Linked DNA regions of Homo sapiens: all the other regions are linked to region 1. Evidence: promoter capture Hi-C in 16 types of primary human blood cells and fetal thymus (Javierre and others, 2016). All regions are on one chromosome and are shown on one strand. Each heading gives the region's core, a stretch centred on a gene start or on the middle of the fragment in contact. The rest is flanking DNA. Distances are from core to core; before and after follow the strand shown. Region 1 holds the start of PRSS16 (serine protease 16). Region 2 has its middle 13 kb from the start of TRQ-CTG6-1. Region 3 holds the start of OR2B6 (olfactory receptor family 2 subfamily B member 6).

Region 1 (2,700 bases), core at 195-2,694:
GTGACAACAGAAGGATCAGGGGACAGGGTCTCAGGTGTTGTGCCATTTATAAGGGTGGTCAGGTAAAACCCATTTGGTAAGATAAAATATATGAATGGGGAACTATAGGAAGTGATAAAATAAGACTTGCAGATATTTGGAGGAAAAGCATCCTAAGGAGAGCAAAAATTCTAAGGAAGGAGTGAGTCTTGTGAAATATGAAATAGTCCAATGCAGTTGGAGCAGTGAACCCAGGAGGGGTAGGAGATGAAATCATGACAGTATATACAACAGGGGGCCAGGTCATACAGAGTTTTAAAAACTGTTTTCAAAACTTTAGATTTACTTTGAGTAAGATGGGGCATCAGGGAAGTGTTCTAAACCAGGGAGTGAATGATTGTGAATGATTGGGCTAATATTTAATTCTGTCTCTCTGTCTGCTGAGTGTAGAATAAATCATGAGGCAGAAACAGGGTGACCAGCTAAAAGCCTTCCATGATATCCCAAGTCAGAGATGATGGTGGCTCAGCAGTGGTAGCACTGAAGGTAGTGAGAAGTCATCAGATTCTGGATATATTTTTTAAATTTATGGGAATAACTTTTTAAATGTACAATATTTCTCATAGTGATAAGTCCCATGAAAAAGAATTAGGAATAAAGTTTGAAAAGGAATAGAAGAGGGCCATAGGTTTGGCAATTTTTAAAAAGCTGACCATGGAAGACCTTTCTGAATGAATGACCTTTGAATAAAGATCCAGTTGAAGTGAGGGAGCAAACCACGTGGGTATATAGGGAAATCACAATCCATAGGGTGGGAACAACAAGAATAAGAACCCTAAGGCAGAAGCAAGCCTGGTATGTTCAAAGAACTGTAAGGAGTCTATGGACAGTGTGAGATTGTGGGTCAGAGAAGCTCGGGACAGTGAAGCAGAGCAGAAAGTGAGGGGGCTGGAAAATAGACAAGGTGAGATTGGGGGACAAAGAGATGAGTATGGAGAGAAAGACTGAAAAAGAGATGGGGGACTGAGAAAAAAGAGACGGAAAGACTGAGTGTGGGAACAACTGAGGGGTACTGAAGATATGCTGAGGGGCAGAAAGAAAAGACTGAGAATAAGTGGGCAACTGGGGTTCCAGAGGAGGTGCTGAGGTGGGGAGAGACAGAGGTTGAAGGACAATAAGGCATGCAAAGGAGGAATCTGAGATAAAGAGAAGGTAGACCGAAGAGCGGAGAGGAGGAGACTGAGACAGCGAGGGCTACTGAGAGCTGAGGGAAGAACAGACTGAGAGGCCCAGAGAGAAGAAACTGGGAGTTCCGATGCTGCATCAGCAGCCTCTGTGTACAGACTCTGGCGTCCCTGCCCCGCTTTAGCAGTTCCTACAGACGCTTGACCTGCCAGGAAAGGAAAGAAACCTGAGCCTCTGCTGAAAGGTGATGGATTTAAGGCCCGGCTGCTGAGGATAAGATAAAGGTCCTCCTGGGGGAGAACAGAGTCCCGAACACCATGGCCGTCTGGCTTGCCCAGTGGCTGGGCCCTCTGCTCTTGGTTTCCCTCTGGGGACTCTTGGCTCCAGGTAAGAGGAGGCTGAGGGTCAAGCAGGGCATCCTAAGGGGGCCAGCCTGACTTCCTTCCCTCCATGTCCCACAGCCTCCCTTCTTAGGCGCCTGGGTGAGCACATTCAGCAGTTTCAGGAGAGCTCTGCCCAGGGCCTGGGCCTGAGCCTGGGGCCAGGTGCTGCAGCCCTCCCAAAAGTGGGGTGGCTGGAGCAACTGCTGGACCCCTTCAACGTGTCCGACAGACGATCCTTCCTACAGGTGAGGCCGGGAGACGGGGAGTCCACTAACCATCCTGCCCTCTCCTCAGTCTCCCTCATCTCTTCCTCAGTCTGCACTTTTTTCTCTCTCCACACCTCAGTTCTCCCCATCCCTCTGCTTGAATCTCATGTTATGCTTGCTGTCAGTATCCCTTTTCCTGCCCTTTGTAGATTTGGCCTTACTCTCTCCTCTCCTCGGGGTCCCACTCGTTTTGTCCCTCAGATCTTGCCCTTCACCATTTCTTTCTCTCTGTCATTCACATTCACTGCTCCTCCCTACCCCCTTGTCCCTGTCCAGACTGGACACAAAACCTACCACCAGGTCTCAGTAGGTAGCAGAAATTTGAACCAGCTTTGGAATCAGACCTAGCTCACAACAGGCACTCAAAGATATCTATCGAAAGAAGGAACAAATTCGCCATTTTTCAGTGCTTCCTCTGTATTTAGTCTCCAAATATCATCCCACTTGGATCTTATTCCTAAATCCATCTGCATTTATTTCTTATTTTACAATTATTACTTCAAGAAATAGCAAGTTCCTTCAATGTGAGAGCCACTCCCTCAGTTCTGGGGATATAAGAGTGAAAAACCAGGTCAAAAATTTGCTTTTGTATATTTTGCATTCTAGATGAGGAGATGAACAGGGGAAAAGTGAGCAAGTAAATAAACAAGCTCATTTCAGACACTGTTAAGTACATAAGGAAAGATCCATTAGGAAGAGAGACTGGAACAAATGAGGAATTGAGAATAAGTCAGGACTCTCACAGTGCCATTTCTTCTTCCCCATCCCACCTCTCAGCGTTACTGGGTGAATGACCAACATTGGGTTGGCCAGGATGGACCCATATTCCTGCATCTAGGGGGTGAGGGCAGCCTTGGGCCTGGCTCAGTGATGAGAGGTAAGAGGCA
Region 2 (2,700 bases), core at 25-2,524, 530 kb after region 1:
TTCCAGCCTGCTTTCTCATGCTCTTATTCTGGGATATCTTCCTAACCCCAGTATATCTGCCTCAGTGTCTCACCCTGTCTTTTTAGAAAAGGAAAAAAAAAAAAAAAGAAAGAAAACGTAAATGAAATTGGTGGAGAGTAATGGCCACCAATCCTATGCCTGACCTGGAACTGGAAACACAAGGCTTTCCTGAAGACAGAGAAACTCTGAGAAAACGGGAAAAGCAAGTTGGTGAAAAGAGCAAAATAAAAGTTTCAGAAGGGACTTTCTTGACATAGCACAGGATGAAGGAGTATCAAAGGTCTCTGTTTGGGCCCTTGGCTGGGAAAGCCCACATTCGCTGAAAGTGAAAGCTGTCCGCAGACATAACACCAAAGGGTTAGGGTAGGAAGCCCCTTTTTATGAATTCAACGGCAGGGATAGGGGTGGGGATAAGGTGGGGCTGCGTGGGTACACCAGGCGCCCGGAAAGCTGCAAAAGGCGTTAGGTCAATATGCAAAAATACTTCTAGGTCAATACGCAAAAATACTTCTAGTGTTGGGAAAGAAATTTTATTGGGGACAGGAAACAAGCGAACTGGCTAATATACTTTCTCTCTAAGGAGAGTAGTCTGACTTAATGCCTTCCTCGATTCTCTCTAAGGGCTTCTGAGGGCTTTGCTTGACTTTTCTCCTGTTTCTGCTCCTGAGCCCAAAGCAGCTCTTAAAGAAAGAAATGTCAGGTTTTGAAGCATGTTTGGTAGATTTGGAAAGGGCAACTCGCAACTTGAAGGGGATTGTTGGAATCAACTGGTTCTAGAGTGAGCTGATCTTAAGAGGCCAAGAGGAAAAAAGAAAAACCGGGAAAGAAACAGTGAAAGAAAAACAGAAAGAGGCAAAACAGTGTAACAACAACAACAACAACAACAACAAAATGGCTGATCACCTGCATGATAAATAAGAAGAGTAGAAGCGTGTTTTCCGTTAGCAGAGTGGCGCAGCGGAAGCGTGCTGGGCCCATAACCCAGAGGTCGATGGATCTAAACCATCCTCTGCTAAAGAAGGGTGCTTTTTTTTTTTTTTTTCCCCCCCCCCTTCTTGAGGAATTACCTTCCACAGTTGTGGGGAGAAGATGGCCTCTAAATATATATTATATATATTATATCTCTCTCTCTCTCTCGCTCTCTCTCTCTTAAAAGTCCTTTCAGAGGCTGTATCTCACTTTTAGATATGTCTTCAGCATGTTCCTTCTCCTTTCTCCAAATGTTTGCGTAACTCCTTTCTTACTCATATCTTATTTGGAAAGGCATATCTTACTTGGGAAGAGGAGGTGACAATTCTCATGTTTACTTCCAACAAATTACCTATCTTCCAGTGAATAGAAAATACACTGAGGTTGAATATAATTTTATATTTTCTTGCACTCGAAGGCAAAACACTGTTACTGACTTTTGCCTGAGACCATTGGTTATTGTAAATCGTTATTGTCTTTTTGCTTCTACGGGAGCCTCCTGCTTCTTTTGCTCTTTTGTTCATCTCTATGCATGATTTATTAAATTCATTTCGTGTACTGTGAATTCTTCTCTAAAGCTATCTGTTACGATGGCCAAAAGACATCATTTATACCCTCCTCCTTCCATACTTACAGAAACTAGACACATGGAATGTTATGAGAAAGAGAAGCAACAATGAAGTTAAGTGTAAAATGGTTGATTCTACTTGGATAGATTTTTTTAAAAAATGTAAATGGTAGAAAACATAGGGGTACATTTAAAGCATTTTGTGAATCAGAATTCCATGGGCAAACTCAGAAGACCAATAATCTTTATTTTGTCTGCTTACCTTCTAGAAGCATTTTAACTAACTTTAAATGTCCAGGCATAAGAGATTGGTTGAATAAACTGTAACATGGACTCAAAGAGGAAGCGCTATGGGGCTACAAAAAAGATATAATTTCTAGGAGATAGTGTTAAGTAAAGAAAGTGCAGATGAATATTATAGTAGGCTACCTTTTTTCAAGAAGGAAGGGGAATTAAGAAAACATACACATACCTGTTTTTCTTTCTGAAAAGAAAACATAGTGAAGATAAACCAGAAAACAGTGAATCTGGCTACCTAAAATGGTGGTAAGAGACTTGGGGGAAATGGAGTGTAAGGGACATGGGACGCCACTTCTCTGAGTTTACCTTTTGTTATACCTTTAACTTTTGAAAGCATGTGAATGTTTTACTTTTTTTTTTTTTAACGGAAGAGGTTCTCTGTGTGAACATGTTGACTAAATACAAAAGGGTTATAAAAGGTCTTTGCTTCTTTAAAATTTCTGAGTCATCGTTTTGGCAAAATAAATAACTTATAGCAATCTGGAATTCCCAAAATCAAACATCGGTTTCAAAAATCTCTTCCCTGGCACCTGGCTTTTTGAATACTTCAGCGGGCCCCTGAAGTGTCCAGAAAAGACAGGTAAACAGGATTATTTGACACGTTTAGGTACATGGGATTGCCAAAATGATGCTCAATCTTCTTTAGGCTATATTTTTGTGAATAATACTAATATATATTTCAAAATTGTATGGGATTTCTAAAATAGTATAAGCTATTAATTATAGTTATGTTAAGTTATTGTAAACTGCAGAAACAACCAAATTTTCTTGTATAAAGCTACTAACCCAAGTAAAACAAAAACTTAATTAAATATCAAGAAAATAATTTCATGTTAAACCAG
Region 3 (2,700 bases), core at 152-2,651, 710 kb after region 1:
TAAATTGACATTTTTACACTAACAAAATTATAATAAAACAATAGAGGGTGGTGGTAGCAAGATAGATGATTTGGAAATTTTTAACTGGTAGCATTGACTTATATTAGTACTTAGCAAATTTAGGGCTCTGAACAGCCTCTGCCCCGAATGTCTCAGAGTTCCTGTGTCATATGATACTTTCATTCACATTGCTGTGTGCCATTATACCAGGTAATTTACATTAAAGATCACATTTATACTTCACATCAGATAGTTATTATTATCTCTGTTGTTAAAGTTGATGGTATTGGAGTTGTGGAGAGAACAAGATAAATATTACCTCACAGAGTCATTTTTTATTGGCAACCCCAGGACATTTAAAGTTCTGAAAATCATACATAATTTTTCTCTGAGCATCAGAAGATGACTACAGTTCCTTTTGTCTACACTTTGTACCACTATCCCAGGAAGGTATTATTATACTCATTTTATAGGTGAGGAGCTTGAAGCTCACAAAGAGTAAGAAACATTCCCAGGAGGATGTAACTAATGACTTATGTAGTAGGGACATGGACCCAGACTTGTCTGCCTCCAAATTCCATGCTACTAATATCTTTTTATTCTAATTTGATAAGGTCTTAGAAGGCAAAAGATGTTTCCCTGAGATGTGTCTAATAGCTTGCTACAGCCTATATGCATAGTTTTTGAGGCGGTCTAAATAATTTTAATTGTTTCACATCGTATGTTCCCATTCATAAGTGGGAACTAAGCTATGAGGAATGACACAATGGACTTTGGGGACTGGGGGGAAAGGGAAGGAGGGAGCTGAAGGATAAAAGACTACACATTGGGTACAGTGTTCACTGCTCAGGTGGTGGGTGCACCAAAATCTCAGAAATCACCACTAGAGAACTTATTCATGTAACCAAACACCTCCTGTTCCCCAAAAACCTATTGAAATAAAAAAAAATTTAAGAAACTAACAAATTGTTTGTTTCAGATGACAAGGCAGTTTCCTTAACATTGAGAAATTAGAGTGAAAAAAATGTGTTAGAGATTATGACCGAATCTAATAATAGCTATCTATGTGGACAGTATTACAAAAATTAACCAAATGACAAAAAATCAAAGAAGAAATTTTGTGAAAGTTGTTTAAAATCAGGAATCTACTTTTTACATTTTAGCTTTCACTTTTGCAGTGATGATACAGATATAGAAAGATTAAATTTTAGAAATACTTTGGTAATTATGAGCATTTTCAACTGTATATTTTTCATGTAATAAAACAAGCAATATCAATTCTGTAAATATCTTCAAACAGGTAGTAAAATGACTATAAGTAACTGAAATAGTTAACAAATATGTGTTAATTGACTTCCTGAATTTTTCTGTTTCAGGAAACCAAGAGTTGAAACATTAATCATGAATTGGGTAAATGACAGCATCATACAGGAGTTTATTCTGCTGGGTTTCTCAGATCGACCTTGGCTGGAGTTTCCACTCCTTGTGGTCTTCTTGATTTCTTACACTGTGACCATCTTTGGCAATCTGACCATTATTCTAGTGTCACGCCTGGACACCAAACTTCATACCCCCATGTATTTTTTTCTTACCAATCTATCACTCCTGGATCTTTGTTACACCACATGTACAGTCCCACAAATGCTAGTAAATTTATGCAGCATCAGGAAAGTAATCAGTTATCGTGGCTGTGTAGCCCAGCTTTTCATATTTCTGGCCTTGGGGGCTACTGAATATCTTCTCCTGGCCGTCATGTCCTTTGATAGGTTTGTAGCTATTTGTCGGCCTCTCCATTACTCAGTTATCATGCACCAGAGACTCTGCCTCCAGTTGGCAGCTGCATCCTGGGTTACTGGTTTTAGTAACTCAGTGTGGTTGTCTACCCTGACTCTCCAGCTGCCACTCTGTGACCCCTATGTGATAGATCACTTTCTCTGTGAAGTCCCTGCACTGCTCAAGTTATCTTGTGTTGAGACAACAGCAAATGAGGCTGAACTATTCCTTGTCAGTGAGCTCTTCCATCTAATACCCCTGACACTCATCCTTATATCATATGCTTTTATTGTCCGAGCAGTATTGAGGATACAGTCTGCTGAAGGTCGACAAAAAGCATTTGGGACATGTGGTTCCCATCTAATTGTGGTGTCTCTTTTTTATAGTACAGCCGTCTCTGTGTACCTGCAACCACCTTCGCCCAGCTCCAAGGACCAAGGAAAGATGGTTTCTCTCTTCTATGGAATCATTGCACCCATGCTGAATCCCCTTATATATACACTTAGGAACAAGGAGGTAAAGGAAGGCTTTAAAAGGTTGGTTGCAAGAGTCTTCTTAATCAAGAAATAAGAAATATGCAAATGATAAGCTTTGCTAAAGACAAAATGTTTACTTAGCTTACTAACTTCTCTGTAAGTTGCCCTATTTTTGTTGTTACTGTAGAGAACAATGTAAACTCCCTCAAATAAAATTTCCTTGATGAAGAGCTATATTTACTTCTGTTGCCTTAATGTTTTCATTGAACAAGCCCCCAGAATTGACCTTCCAATTCACCAAAAATTGTAATCACAACATCTTCAAGGTTTGTCAAACATCCCATCAATGCTTGTACAATTCAATGTAAATTAGATCCGTAGAAAAGCCAGAAGTTCTTTCTCCAATATCACACACACACACACACACACACACACACACACACACTAGTTA

What was found. The method cuts DNA at HindIII sites, captures the fragments that hold promoters and counts their contacts. A CHiCAGO score of 5 or more calls a contact.
Region 2: a contact is called between a fragment that was not itself captured here and the fragment with the promoter of PRSS16 in region 1, in 1 of 17 cell types (erythroblasts). The highest score is 5.4, in erythroblasts.
Region 3: a contact is called between the fragment with the promoter of OR2B6 here and the fragment with the promoter of PRSS16 in region 1, in 8 of 17 cell types (monocytes, total CD8 T cells, M2 macrophages and 5 more). The highest score is 7.7, in monocytes.

The regions. Positions count from the first base shown.
Region 1 is chr6:27,246,257-27,248,956 of GRCh38, forward strand. PRSS16 (serine protease 16) reads left to right here and starts at 1,445. Exons shown (of 12, transcript NM_005865.4): 1 at 1,445-1,551; 2 at 1,626-1,792; 3 at 2,591-2,690. The coding sequence starts at 1,482. The HindIII fragment of the contact is 3,507 bases long and covers 1-2,700 here.
Region 2 is chr6:27,776,921-27,779,620 of GRCh38, forward strand. No RefSeq gene overlaps it. Among named protein-coding and RNA genes, the nearest start is that of TRQ-CTG6-1, 13 kb to the right of the region's middle. RefSeq lists a silencer at 963-1,022. The HindIII fragment of the contact is 2,981 bases long and covers 1-2,700 here.
Region 3 is chr6:27,955,840-27,958,539 of GRCh38, forward strand. It overlaps OR2B6 (olfactory receptor family 2 subfamily B member 6), which reads left to right and starts at 1,402. Exons shown (of 1, transcript NM_012367.1): 1 at 1,402-2,343. The coding sequence starts at 1,402. The coding sequence ends at 2,343. The HindIII fragment of the contact is 2,455 bases long and covers 1-2,360 here.